4 separate regions of the Homo sapiens genome follow, and all the other regions are linked to region 3. The links are contacts of gene promoters, found by promoter capture Hi-C in human tissues and cell types (Jung and others, 2019). All regions are on one chromosome and are shown on one strand. Each heading gives the region's core, a stretch centred on a gene start or on the middle of the fragment in contact. The rest is flanking DNA. Distances are from core to core; before and after follow the strand shown.

The links. Contacts are between HindIII fragments. The study calls those that stand out against the background at their distance.
Region 1: the fragment with the promoter of SHD here is called in contact with the fragment with the promoter of ZFR2 in region 3 in 2 of the 25 tissues and cell types used here (liver and spleen).
Region 2: a contact is called between the fragment with the promoter of TMIGD2 here and the fragment with the promoter of ZFR2 in region 3, in 3 of the 25 tissues and cell types used here (lymphoblastoid cells, pancreas and stomach).
Region 4: a contact is called between a fragment that was not itself captured here and the fragment with the promoter of ZFR2 in region 3, in 1 of the 25 tissues and cell types used here (stomach).

What each region holds. Positions count from the first base shown.
Region 1 is chr19:4,277,795-4,280,684 of GRCh38, forward strand. SHD (Src homology 2 domain containing transforming protein D) reads left to right here and starts at 1,472. Exons shown (of 6, transcript NM_020209.4): 1 at 1,472-2,566. The coding sequence starts at 2,270. The HindIII fragment of the contact is 14,506 bases long and covers 1-2,890 here.
Region 2 is chr19:4,300,833-4,303,760 of GRCh38, forward strand. TMIGD2 (transmembrane and immunoglobulin domain containing 2) reads right to left here and starts at 1,557. Exons shown (of 5, transcript NM_001169126.2): 1 at 1,508-1,557. The coding sequence starts at 1,553. RefSeq lists an enhancer at 1,018-1,563. The HindIII fragment of the contact is 29,023 bases long and covers 1-2,928 here.
Region 3 is chr19:3,867,670-3,870,398 of GRCh38, forward strand. ZFR2 (zinc finger RNA binding protein 2) reads right to left here and starts at 1,369. Exons shown (of 19, transcript NM_015174.2): 1 at 1,296-1,369. The coding sequence starts at 1,348. The HindIII fragment of the contact is 14,046 bases long and covers 1-2,729 here.
Region 4 is chr19:4,136,052-4,138,795 of GRCh38, forward strand. No RefSeq gene overlaps it. Among named protein-coding and RNA genes, the nearest start is that of MAP2K2, 13 kb to the left of the region's middle. The HindIII fragment of the contact is 7,667 bases long and covers 1-2,744 here.

The DNA.
Region 1 (2,890 bases), core at 222-2,721, 410 kb after region 3:
ATATAAAAATTAGCTGGGCGTGGTGGCAGTAATCCCAGCTACTCAGGAGGCTGAGGCAGGAGAATTGGTTGGACCTGGGAGGTGGAGGTTTCAGTGAGCTGAGATCGCAACACGGCACTCCAGCCTGGAGGACAGAGCAAGGCTCCGTCTCAAAAAAATAAAAAGAGAGACTCCAGTGCCACCCTAGGCCAGGCCCCACGGCGATGTGCAGGCAGAATCAGCTGTGGAGTGGCTCTGAACAAGTCCCTCCCATCTCTGTGCCTCGGTTTCCCCATCCATAAAATGAGGAAGCCAGGTGATAGCTCGGTCCCTCCTGGAATCCTTCCTAGAGCTGTCTGGGATTTCCTGTTAGAAACCACATCTTTCAAATAAGGAAAACCAAGACTCAGGGAGTGACAGACCCTGCCCTCAGCCCCGCCGGGCTGCCAGGAGGCCCCAGTCATAGCAGTGTTGGTTCTGACTTCTGTCTTGTCCTCCAACTGTGCTCTCCAAGCTATGACCTGTGCCTGACCAGGGGGCTGGCCACAAGAGGAGAGAATCTGGGGTCCCATCCTTCCTGACCACCCCTCTCTCACTCCCCTCATTAGGAGGAACTGGGCAAGCCCCCTTATGGGGAAAGAAAAAAAACGGTTCTGCACTGGAAAATTGGCCAGTGGCTCCCTTTTCCTCTCCCACCCCCCAAACCTCTCAGTGCCCTCACCCTCAGACAACGACAGCTGACAACAGGCAGCCAGTTCAGGCCAGACCCCTCTCACTTCTGCCCCTCTTCCCGCCACCGCTCCCCCCCACCCCGCCCCCAGAAGCCACAAAAGGACAGATGCAGAGGACAGGCGCCAGGCACAGATACCATCTCCCTTCCCCAAGCCAGCTGCCCCCAACCCTCCCCCTGCCCGCAATTAGTCCTCTGGGGCGGGAGCGGGGCACAGAGCAGAGCCCTCTTGGGGGAGGGGAAGCCCGATCCGCACCCACCCTTCCTTTGCCCCCCTCTTCCTTCTGCTGCTCCAATATCAATTTCAGCCAGTGACCTCTCCACCAATTTGCACATCCCCACTCTCCCGGTCCGTTTCACCGCCAGACATCGGTTCCATTTCGACCCTCACTGGCGGTCATTCCCACCCCCTCTGCTGGTCAATTTCACCCCTTTTGGCGGTCAAGTGCAGTCCCCCATTTCCCGGGCAATTTCCCCCTCCCCTCCTTCTCCCTCTCCCCTCCCCTCCCCAGCAGTGTCACTCCCAGCTGCTCCCCACCTCCCGCGCTCCGCGCTCGCTGCGGCCAGTCTCGGGCGTCCCGGTCAGTGTCCAGCTGCCGCGGCCTCGGCCCCGGCGACTCCCGCCCCCAGCCCCCCTTCCCTCCGCGGGCAGCGGCTCCCTCCCTCCCCAGAACAGCTGAAGGTCTCAGTCACCTCCGAGGGGAGCGCAGGGGGAGGGGAGGGGCGGGGGACGCGGCGGAGGGGAGGTGGGGGAGCCTTGACGCTGCTGCCCGGGACGCGGCCCGGGGCTGGTGGGAACAGGGGCGTCCTCCTGCGCGCCCCCCTCCCCAGCGTCCCACCTCCCGGCGGCGGCGGGGAAAGTCTCTCCGAAAGCGTGAAGGGGGATTGGAGGAGGTTTTTATTTCCCTTTGTGCGGGTGGCTGGGGCCGGATCGAGGCGGCGGGGGCCGCGGGACTGGGGGCTCCCCGCTGAGCCGAGAGGAGCGCGACAAAGGATGCGTCCCGCCGGGGTCACAGTCTCCGCGGCCCAACTTTGCGCGCGGCGCCCGCGCCCCTGGGGAGCCCGCCCGCTGCGCTGAGAACCCAGGCGTCCGGGCTGGGAGAGGGGCCGGGAGCGTCCGCAGGTGGCGCTGGCCCGGATCTCCCGACCCCAGGAAGGGATCCCGGAGCTTCCTGGAGGCGGCGGGCGGCCGTGTCGCTCCAGGGAACCGCGCTGCCCGCGGAAACTCCGCGCGCCTCCGCGGATGCCCCTCGCCCTAGCCCCCAGCGCGCGGGGTTCGGGGCCCTGCGAGGTCCCCCCTTCCCCCGCGGTGCTTCCCAAGCTGGGCTAAGGCGGGCTTCTCTTCCTCCCTCCTCTGTCGCCTCCTTTTCCTCCCCCTCGTTCACCTTTTCCTTCCCTCTATCCATCCAGAGCCCCGCCAAAGGGCGCACCTGATCTTTCTCATCCTTCCCTGCTCTTCCCTTCCTCTCCACCTCCTCCTCCTCCTTGGGGAAAGGGGCCCGGAGAAGGGCATGTGGGGGCCCCTCTGACAGTGGCCCGATTGGGGTGACAGGCGCCCAAATGGCCAAGTGGCTACGGGACTACCTGAGCTTTGGGGGTCGGAGGCCCCCTCCGCAGCCGCCCACCCCGGACTACACCGAGAGCGACATCCTGAGGGCCTACCGCGCGCAGAAGAACCTGGACTTCGAGGACCCCTATGAGGACGCGGAGAGCCGCTTGGAGCCGGACCCCGCGGGCCCTGGGGACTCCAAGAACCCCGGAGATGCCAAGTATGGTTCTCCCAAGCACCGGCTCATCAAGGTGGAGGCTGCGGATATGGCCAGAGCCAAGGCCCTTCTGGGCGGCCCCGGGGAGGAGGTGCGTGGCTGGGTGGCCTGGGGAGACTGGGTGGAGGGGAGGCTCAGGATGGGCTCTCTGGATCGTGGAGAGCTTATTTTATGTGTGATCACAGGAGGGGACTGGGGCACCAGACAGACCCTTCCCAGTCCTCCAGACCTCCACCTGCTTGGGGAAGTCTGTTCTTTTTATGTATTTATTTATTTTGAGACAGTCTCCCCCTGTCACCCAGGCTGGAGTGCAGTGGTGGGATCTCGGCTCATTGCAACCTCCACCTCCTGGGGTTCAAGCGATTCTCCTGCCTCAGCCTCTCCAGTAGCTGAGATTACAGGTGTGTGCCACCAC
Region 2 (2,928 bases), core at 307-2,806, 430 kb after region 3:
GGGAGGAAGGGTTGGGCAGGGCCTGTGAGCCTTGGGGTGGTGTGGGGAGGTGAAGGAAGTTAAGCAGTTTATGTTTTAATGTAAGTGTGATGGAAAATCAGAAAGCAGGGAAGAAATAGTCCAATTGAAGTTTTTGTTTTTGTTTTTGTTTTTGTTTTGAGATGGGGTCTCACTCTGTTGCCCAGGTGGGAGTGCAGTGGTGTGATCTCGGCTCATTGCAACCTCTGCCTCCCAGGTTCAAGTGATTCTTGTGGCTCAGCCTCTTGAGTAGCTGGGACTACAGGCACTCGCTACCACGCCCAGCTAATTTTTGTATTTTTGGTAGAGATGGGGTTTCACCAACATGGCCAGGCTGGTCTGGAACTCCTGACCTCAAGTGATCCACCTGCCTCAGTCTCCAATTTAAGTTTTAATAAAAAGACCTTGGTTGGGTGTGGTGGCTCATGCCTGTTATCCCAGCCCTTTGGGTGGCCAAGACTGGGTGATTGCTTGAGGCCAGGAGTTCAAGACCAGCCTGGGCAACATAGTGAGACCCATCTCTAAAAAACAAAAATGACTGGGCACGGTGGCTCACGCCTGTAATCCCAGCACTTTGGGAGGCCAAGGTGGGTGGATCATGAGGTCAGGAGTTCGAGACCCACCTGGCCGAGATGGCGAAACCCCGTCTCTACTAAAAATACAAAAAAAATTAGCCAGGCGCAGTGGCGCGCGCCTGCAGTCCCAGCTACTCGGGAGCCTGAGGCAGGAGAATCTCTTGAACCTGGGAGGCAGAGGTTGCAGTCAACCGAGATCGCGTCACTGCACTCTAGCCTGGGTGACAGAGCAAGACTCCTTCTCAAAACAAAACAAAACAAACAAACAAAAAAACACAAATGAACAACAAAAAAGTGCAAGCGGCTGGAATCAGAGGAGAGGGAAAGAGGAATGGAGGTTTTCGCCCCAGGAAATGTGTGAAGGGCAGCAGCCTTTGTCCTTAATTGGAAACACAGAGGGAGCTGCTGCCGGAGTAGAAAGTCTGCTTTTAGCTGTGAGAAGTCTGACGTGTCTGTTAGACCCCCGGAGAAGTTGAGGTTATGTGAAGTTCCTGGCATTTGAGATGCAATTGCAGAGGAGGGTAGAGACATGAGATCTGGAGAAGGGTATTAGGCAGCTGGAACAGCAGGTGCAAAGGCTCGAAGGCCAGATCCAGCCTTCCCATTGCGGAAACAGAGAAAGAAAAGTCCCCAGGCTAGAGCAAGAGGGAGGGAGCAAAGGCACTGCGGAGGGTGGAGATGAGAGAGGCCAGGCCAGGCTGGTATGTAGGGCAAGGTTTAGATTGTATCCTAGGGGCCCTCAGAGGATCCTTCCTTAATCCTCCAGCCCCCATCACGTTCTGAGTCTCGGAGGGAGATGGGCCTTATCTGACAGTAGAGAGACTGAAGTTTAGAGGGGCCCTGAGCTGGGGGGCAGGCAGCTGGGGATGACAGCAAGAGTGGGGTTCAGAGGGGAGGGAGGCCCAGATACTCACCCCAGATCTGCACCAGGAGGCCCAGCACCATGCCCGGGGACCCCATTCCTGGCCCATCACCCCCCTCTCCCCCTCCCAGTTGACAGACTTCCTGCCACAATCTCCGCCTCCCGCTGCAGAAGCAGATGCAACACCCAGGGCCAGACAACAGACGTCCGGTGTTCCAGCCTGCTGGGGGCTCCACTTCCTGCCACCTCGTGCCTCAGTTTCCCCAATGCATTTTCTATCTGAAAGGCAGTGTACGGACCAGGCAACATGGCTCATGTCTGTAATCCCAGCACTTTGGGAGGCCGAGGCAGGTGGATCACCTGAGGTCAGGAGTTCGAGACCAGCTTGGCCAACATGATGAAACCCCTACTAATTTCTACTAAAAATACAGAAATTAGCTGGACATGGTGATGGGCGCCTATAATCCCAGCTACTTGGGAGGCTGAGGCAGGAGAATGGCTTAAACCCGGGAGGCGGAGGTTGCAGTGAGCCAAGATCACGCCACTGCACTCCAGCCTGGGCGACAAGAGTGAAACTCCGTCTCAGAAAAAAAGAAAAGAAAGGCAGTGTATGCAAGTGAGTGGGAGGAATCCACCCCTGTGAGCTTTCTGGAAGGCTCTACATAAACACATCTAGGTACAGGAAGACACAGTGCGAGAGCAGGTGGCTCCGTGGGGGAGGGGCAGGCGACATAGGCCTGAGCAGTGAGTTAAATGACAGGGTCCCTGCCTCAATTATTTTGCTCCCAAAATGTCTTTCTTTTGCTGGGCGCTGTAGCTCACACCTGTAATCCCAGCACTTTGTGAGGCTGAGGTGGGAGGATCACTTGAGCCGAGTTTAAGATCAACCTGGGGTAACACAGCGAGATCCAATCTCTATTAAAAAAAAAAAAAAAAAAAAAAAGATACAGGCTGGGCATGGTGGCCCAGGCCTGTAATCCCAGCACTTTGGGAGGCCAAGGCGGGTGGATCACCTGAGGTCAGGAGTTCAAGACCAGCCTAGCCAACATGGCAAAACCCGGTCTCTACTAAAAATACAAAAATTAGCTGGGCCTAGTGGTGGGCGCCTGTAGTCCCAGCTACTCAGTGGGGTTGAGGCAGGAGAATCGCCAGAACTGGGGAGATGGAGATTACAGGGAGCCGAGATCCTGCCACTGCACTCCAGCCTGGGCGACAGAGTGAGACTGTGTCTCAAAAAAAAAAAAAAAGATACAAAACCAACCCAGGGTGATGGTGCATGCCTATAGTCCCAGCCACTCGGGAGGCTGAGGCAGGAGAACCGCTTGAGCCCAGGAGTTGGAGGCTGCAGTAAGCCATGATTGCGCCCCGTTACTCCAGCCTGGGCAACAGAGTGAGTCCGTCTCTAAAAAAAAATAATAATAATAATTTAAAAAATCTTCCTTTGAGGTTCAGAGAAATAGATTTCTGTTGATA
Region 3 (2,729 bases), core at 119-2,618:
TCCCTGGAAACCCAGGTGCCCACCCTCTTATTTGACCTCAGGACCTCCTCCCACATAATACTGGCTTCCCGCCAAGTCTCTGTCCCCCTTCCCCAGTCAGGCCTCAGTTCCCCACCAACCTCGGTTTCCGCCCCTCCCTGGGGTAACCTCCCAGGTCTCTGTCTTCTCTCCTCCACCCCACATCAGGGGTCAGGTTCCCACCCCTACTCCACACCCCACCCCAGGTCTCTGCCCCTGCCTGCTAGGTACCCTCCCAGGTCTCTGCCTTCTCTCCTACCCCCACCATCAGGGGTCAGTGCCCTCCACACTCGAATGTTGCTGCCCCCTGCCCAGTCGGGAAACTTCCCAGGTCTCTGCCTTCTCCTCCTCCAGCAATCGGGGATTAACGCCCCTCTGCCCTTCCCCTCCTCCTGCCCAGCCAGACACCCTCCCAGGTCTGAATTCTCTCCCCCTACCAGCAATCGGGGTCAGCTCCGCTCTAGCTCTCCCCCTGTCCAGCCAGACACCCTCCCAGGTTTCTGTCTTCTCTCTTACCCCCATCAGGGGCCAATTCCTCACCCCTCGACTGTGGCTTCCTCCTGCCCAGCCAGGAACCCTCGCTGATCTCTGTTTTCTCCTCCCCTACAAGTAATCGGGGGTCAGCTACCCTCTGTCCATCCCCCTGCCCGGCCAGGCACCCTCCCAGGTCTGTGTCTTCTCCTCCCCCCGCAATCGGGGGTCAATGCCCCTCTGCCCTTCCCCTCCTCCTGCCCAGCCAGACACCCTCCTAGGTCTGTGTCTTCTCTTCCCCTACCAGCAATCAGGGGTCAGCTCCCCTCTGCCCATCCCCACCCACTCCCCGGCCAGGCACCTCCCAGGTCTCCTCCCTGCATTGGGTCAGTTCCGTCCCCTCCCCTCCTCGGTCAGACCACCCACCCCCCGCCCGGGTCTGTCCCCTCTCGCTGCCCTCCTCGTGGCGCCCCCATCAGGGGCTGACCCCCCCGACCCCGCACAGGCCCAGGCCCAAACCCAGGCCCCCTCCCACTTCAGGAGCCCCCTCCCGCTCCCGCCGACAGACACCGTTGGCTGCAGAGACGTCTCAGCCGGAGCCCCGGAGCCCGCATCCCGCCCGGTGCCTAACCTGAGGCCGCCCCGCCTGCTTCTCCCGGCGCCGCGGCTTCCCTCAGGCCGGGGTTCCAGGTTGGGGCTGGGACTGGGGCCGGGCCGGGCGCACGCGGCGGGAGAAGGGGTAGGCGGGGTCCCGGCCAGGCTGCAGGGGCCGGGACTGGCGGGGGCTGGCGCGGCGGGGCAGTTACCTGTACTGCGGGCCGCCGCCCTGCGCGAAGTCGAAATACTGACTCGTCGCCATCTTGGCGTCTTCCCCGAGCCTGGCGGACCCGCGACGTCACCCGCCCCGCCCCCGAGCCGCGTGCCGCTCGCGCCTGGCCACGCGCCCCAAGCTCCGCCCCCTGCGCGAAGCCCTCACCTTCTCGCTTCCTTCTCTTAGGCTAGGGAGACACCGCCCCGCGACCACACCTGCCCCGAGGCCCCGCCTCCTACGCAGAGCCCCGCCCTCCTCTTAACCACTCAAATGTGGAGGTCTCTGCTCAAGCCCCGCCCATGCTAGAAGCCCTGCCTCTTTCTCGGAGCCCCACATTCCCTTTAACCACTCAGATGTGGTGGTATCTGATCAAGTCCCGCCCATGCTACAAGCCCCGCCTCTTACTCAGAGCCCTGCCTTCCCTTTACCCACTCAGATGTGATCTCTGCTCAACCCCCACCCATGCCACAAGCCCCGCCTTTTTTTGGAACCGTACCTTCCCTTTAACCATTCAGGTGTGGAGGTCTCTGCTCAAGCCCCACCCATGCCACAAGCCCCGCCTCTTTCTCGGAGCCCCGCCTTCCCTTTACCTGCTCAGATATGGTCTCTGCACAAGCCCTACCTCTGTCTCCGAGCCCCACCTTCTCTTTAACCACTCAGATGTGGAGGTCTCTGCTCAAGCCCCACCACCACCACAGCCAGCTAATTTTTAAATTTTTTGTAGAGACAGTGTCTTGCTATGTTGCCCAGGCTGATGTTGAACTCCTGGCCTCAAATAATCTTGCCTTGGCCTCCAAAAGTGCTGGGATTACAGACGTGAGCCACTGCATCTAGCCTCAGAATGACTCTTCAGAAGGCCCCCATGGTCTCTGCCTCCTGTGTTCACAACGTGATATAAATAAATGATAGGCCGGGCACAGTGGCTCACGTCTGTAATCCCAACATTTTGAGAGGCGGAGGCAGGAGGATCTTGAGCCCTAGGACTTTGAGACTAGCCTGGGCAACATAGCAAGACCCTGTTTCTACAATTTTTTTTTAATTAGCTGGTCATGGTGGTACATGCCTGTGGTCCCAGCTACTCAGGAGGCTAAGGTGGGAGGATCACTTGAGCCTGGGCTGTCAAGGCTGCAGTGATCTGTGACTGTACCACTGCACTCCAGAGTGAGACCCTGTCTCAAAAAAGAGAAAAGAAAGAAAGGGCTGGGCGTGGTGGCTCACGCCTGTAATCCCAGCACTTTGGGAAGGCGAGGTGGGCAGCTCACCCAAGGTCAGGAGTTCAAGAGCAGCCTAGCCAACATGGCAAAACCCTGTCTCTACTAAAAATACAAAAAAAAAAATTAGCCAGGCGTGGTGGGGCACACCTGTAATCCCAGCTACTCGGGAGGCTGAGGCAGGAGAATTACCTAACCCAGGAGGTGGAGGATGCAGC
Region 4 (2,744 bases), core at 61-2,560, 270 kb after region 3:
CAAGTGATTCTCCTGCCTCAGCCTCCCGAGTAGCTGGGACTACAGGCACATGCCACCACGCCTGGCTAATTTTTTGTATTTTTAGTAGAGACAGGGTTTCACCATGTTGGCCAGGATGGTCTTGATCTCTTGACCTTGTGATGCACCTGCCTCGGCCTCCTAAAGTGCTGGGATTACAGGAGTGAGCCACTGTGCCCAGCCTAGAGTTGTTTTATGACTTTGTGCCACGTCCTGGCCGATGGATGCTCATGATGACATTTATTTTATCGCTCTGCAATCAAAGATTTGTGCAGATGAATGGGAACTGCGAGAGAACATGGGAAAATGAAAGGGGTTTAATTGCGGGAGGGAAGGAAAACACATAAAATGTATTTTTTCGCTTTCCCATGATTTATTTATTTATTTTTATTATTATTATATTTTGAGATAGAGTCTCGCTCTGTTGCCCAGGCTGGAGTGCAGTGGCATGATCTCGGCTCATTGCAACCTCTGCCTCCTGGGTTCAAGCGATTCTCCTGCCTCAGCCTCCCGAGCAGCTGAGATTACAGGCATGTGCCACCAAACCCGGCTAATCTTTGTATTTTTAGTAGAGATGGGGTTTCGCCATGTTGGCCAGGCTGGTCTCAAACTCCTGACCTCAGGTGATCCGCCCACCTCCACCTCCCAAATTGCTAGGATTACAGGCGTGAGCCACCGCGCCCGGCCTTACCAAGTTCTGATTGAAGTGAAATGCCTGGAAGAAAGATAAAGTTAAAATGAGGTTTTCACAACATGTCGAAATCACTCTGAGCAAAGTTCCAAACCCAAGGTTCTAGAAAGTGCAATGACTTTTTTTTTTTTAAACAGGGGCAATTAAAAATTTCCCAGGCTTAGCAAGATCAAATGGGTGTGTGCAGCGCTCTCTCTGACATGCAATTTATGGAATTATTGATTTGTCAATGTGATCTCTGCACTTCCTGTGAGGAATTTGAGGTCCTGTTTGGAGAATTTGGTAAATAGGGAATCTCGCAGAAACATGGGGTCTTGAGAAACTCATTTCAACCCTCTGAGCCTCAGTTTCCACTTTTCTTTTTTTCTTTTCTTTTCTTTTTTTTTTTTTTTTTGAGACGGAGTCTCACTCTGTCACCCAGGCTGGAGTGCAGTGGTGCAATCTCGGCTCACTGCAAGCTCCGCCTCCCGGGTTCACGCCATTCTTCTGCCTCAGCCTCCCGAGTAGCTGGGACTACAGGCATCCGCCACCACGCCCGGCTAATTTTTTGTGTTTTTAGTAGAGACGGGGTTTCACCATGTTAACCAGGATGGTCTCGATCTCCTGACCTCGTGATCTGCCCACCTCGGCCTCCCAAGTGCTGGGATTACAGGCATGAGCCACCGCGCCCGGCCTTCACTTTTCTTTTTTTAGAAAGACAGGGTGTCTGTCACTCAAATTGGAGTGCAGTGGCATGATCATAGCTCACCACGGCCTCTAATTCCTGGGCTTAAGTGATCCTCTCACCTTAGCCTCCCAAGTAGCTGAGACCACAGGCATGTGCCACCATGCCCTGCTAATTTTTAAACTTTTTGTAGAGACAGGTTTCACTTTGTTTCCCAGGCTGATCTCAAACTCCTGGGCTCAAGCTATCTTGTCACCTTGGCCTCCTAAAGTGCTGAGGTTATAGGCGTGACCTATTATGCTGGCAATAAAATAATTTAAAACAAATTTTTTAGAGACAGGATCTCACCTGGCACCCAGGCTGGAGTGCGGTGGTGCAGTCATAGCTCACCGCAGCTTCCAACTCCTTGGCTCTGGTGATCCTCCCACCTCAAGCCCCTGAGTAGCCTGGACTACGGGCACTTCCCACCATGCCTGGCTAATTTTTAAATTTTTTGTAGAGACAGGGACTCCCTGTGTTGCCTAGGCTGATCTTGAACTCCTGTGCTCAAGCAATCCTCTCACCTCAGCCCCTCAAAGTGCTGGGATTACAGGCGGGAGCCACCATGCCCCGGCCATAAAATCAGTTTTTAACTCAGGCTGTACAACAATAGGCAGTGAGCTGTGGGCTCTAATTTGCCCACCGCAATACAGGCTGTGATTATATTGGGAGGCATTTGGGACATGAAACATGGTCATGTTTGTTTGTTTTGTTTTGTTTTGCTTTTGGCCTTGTTCTTTTTTTGTTTTGTTTTGTTTTGTTTTGTTTTGTTTTTTCAGAGAGTCTCGCTCTGTCACCCAGACTGGAGTGCAGTGGCGAGATCACGGCTCACTGCAAGCTCCGCCTCCTGGGTTCACGCCATTCTCCTGCCTCAGCCTCCCAGGTAGCTGGGACTACAGGCACCTGCCACCACGCCTGGCTAATTTTTTTTTGTATTTTTAGTAGAGACGGGGTTTCACCGTGTTAGCCAGGATGGTTTCAATCTCCTGACCTTGTGATCCGCCCCCCCTCGGCCTCCCAAAGTGCTGGAATTACAGTCGTGAGCCACCGCACCCGGCCAGCCATGTTCTTTATTATCAAACTACTGTGAGTCACTTTTCTTAAGGTTCATTGATTTGACACATTTTTATTGAAACCCTACTAAGTGCCAGGCATTGGATGAGACAAAACCCCTGCCCTCACAGAGTTTACAGTCTGGGGGAGAAATAGGCCACAGATAAGATGCCAGGAAGAGCCACAGAGATGAAAAAAGTGGGGAAGGAGCTTAGGTGCAGTGGTTCATGCCTGTAATCCCAGCACTTTGGGAGGCTGAGGTGGGAGGATCACTTGAGT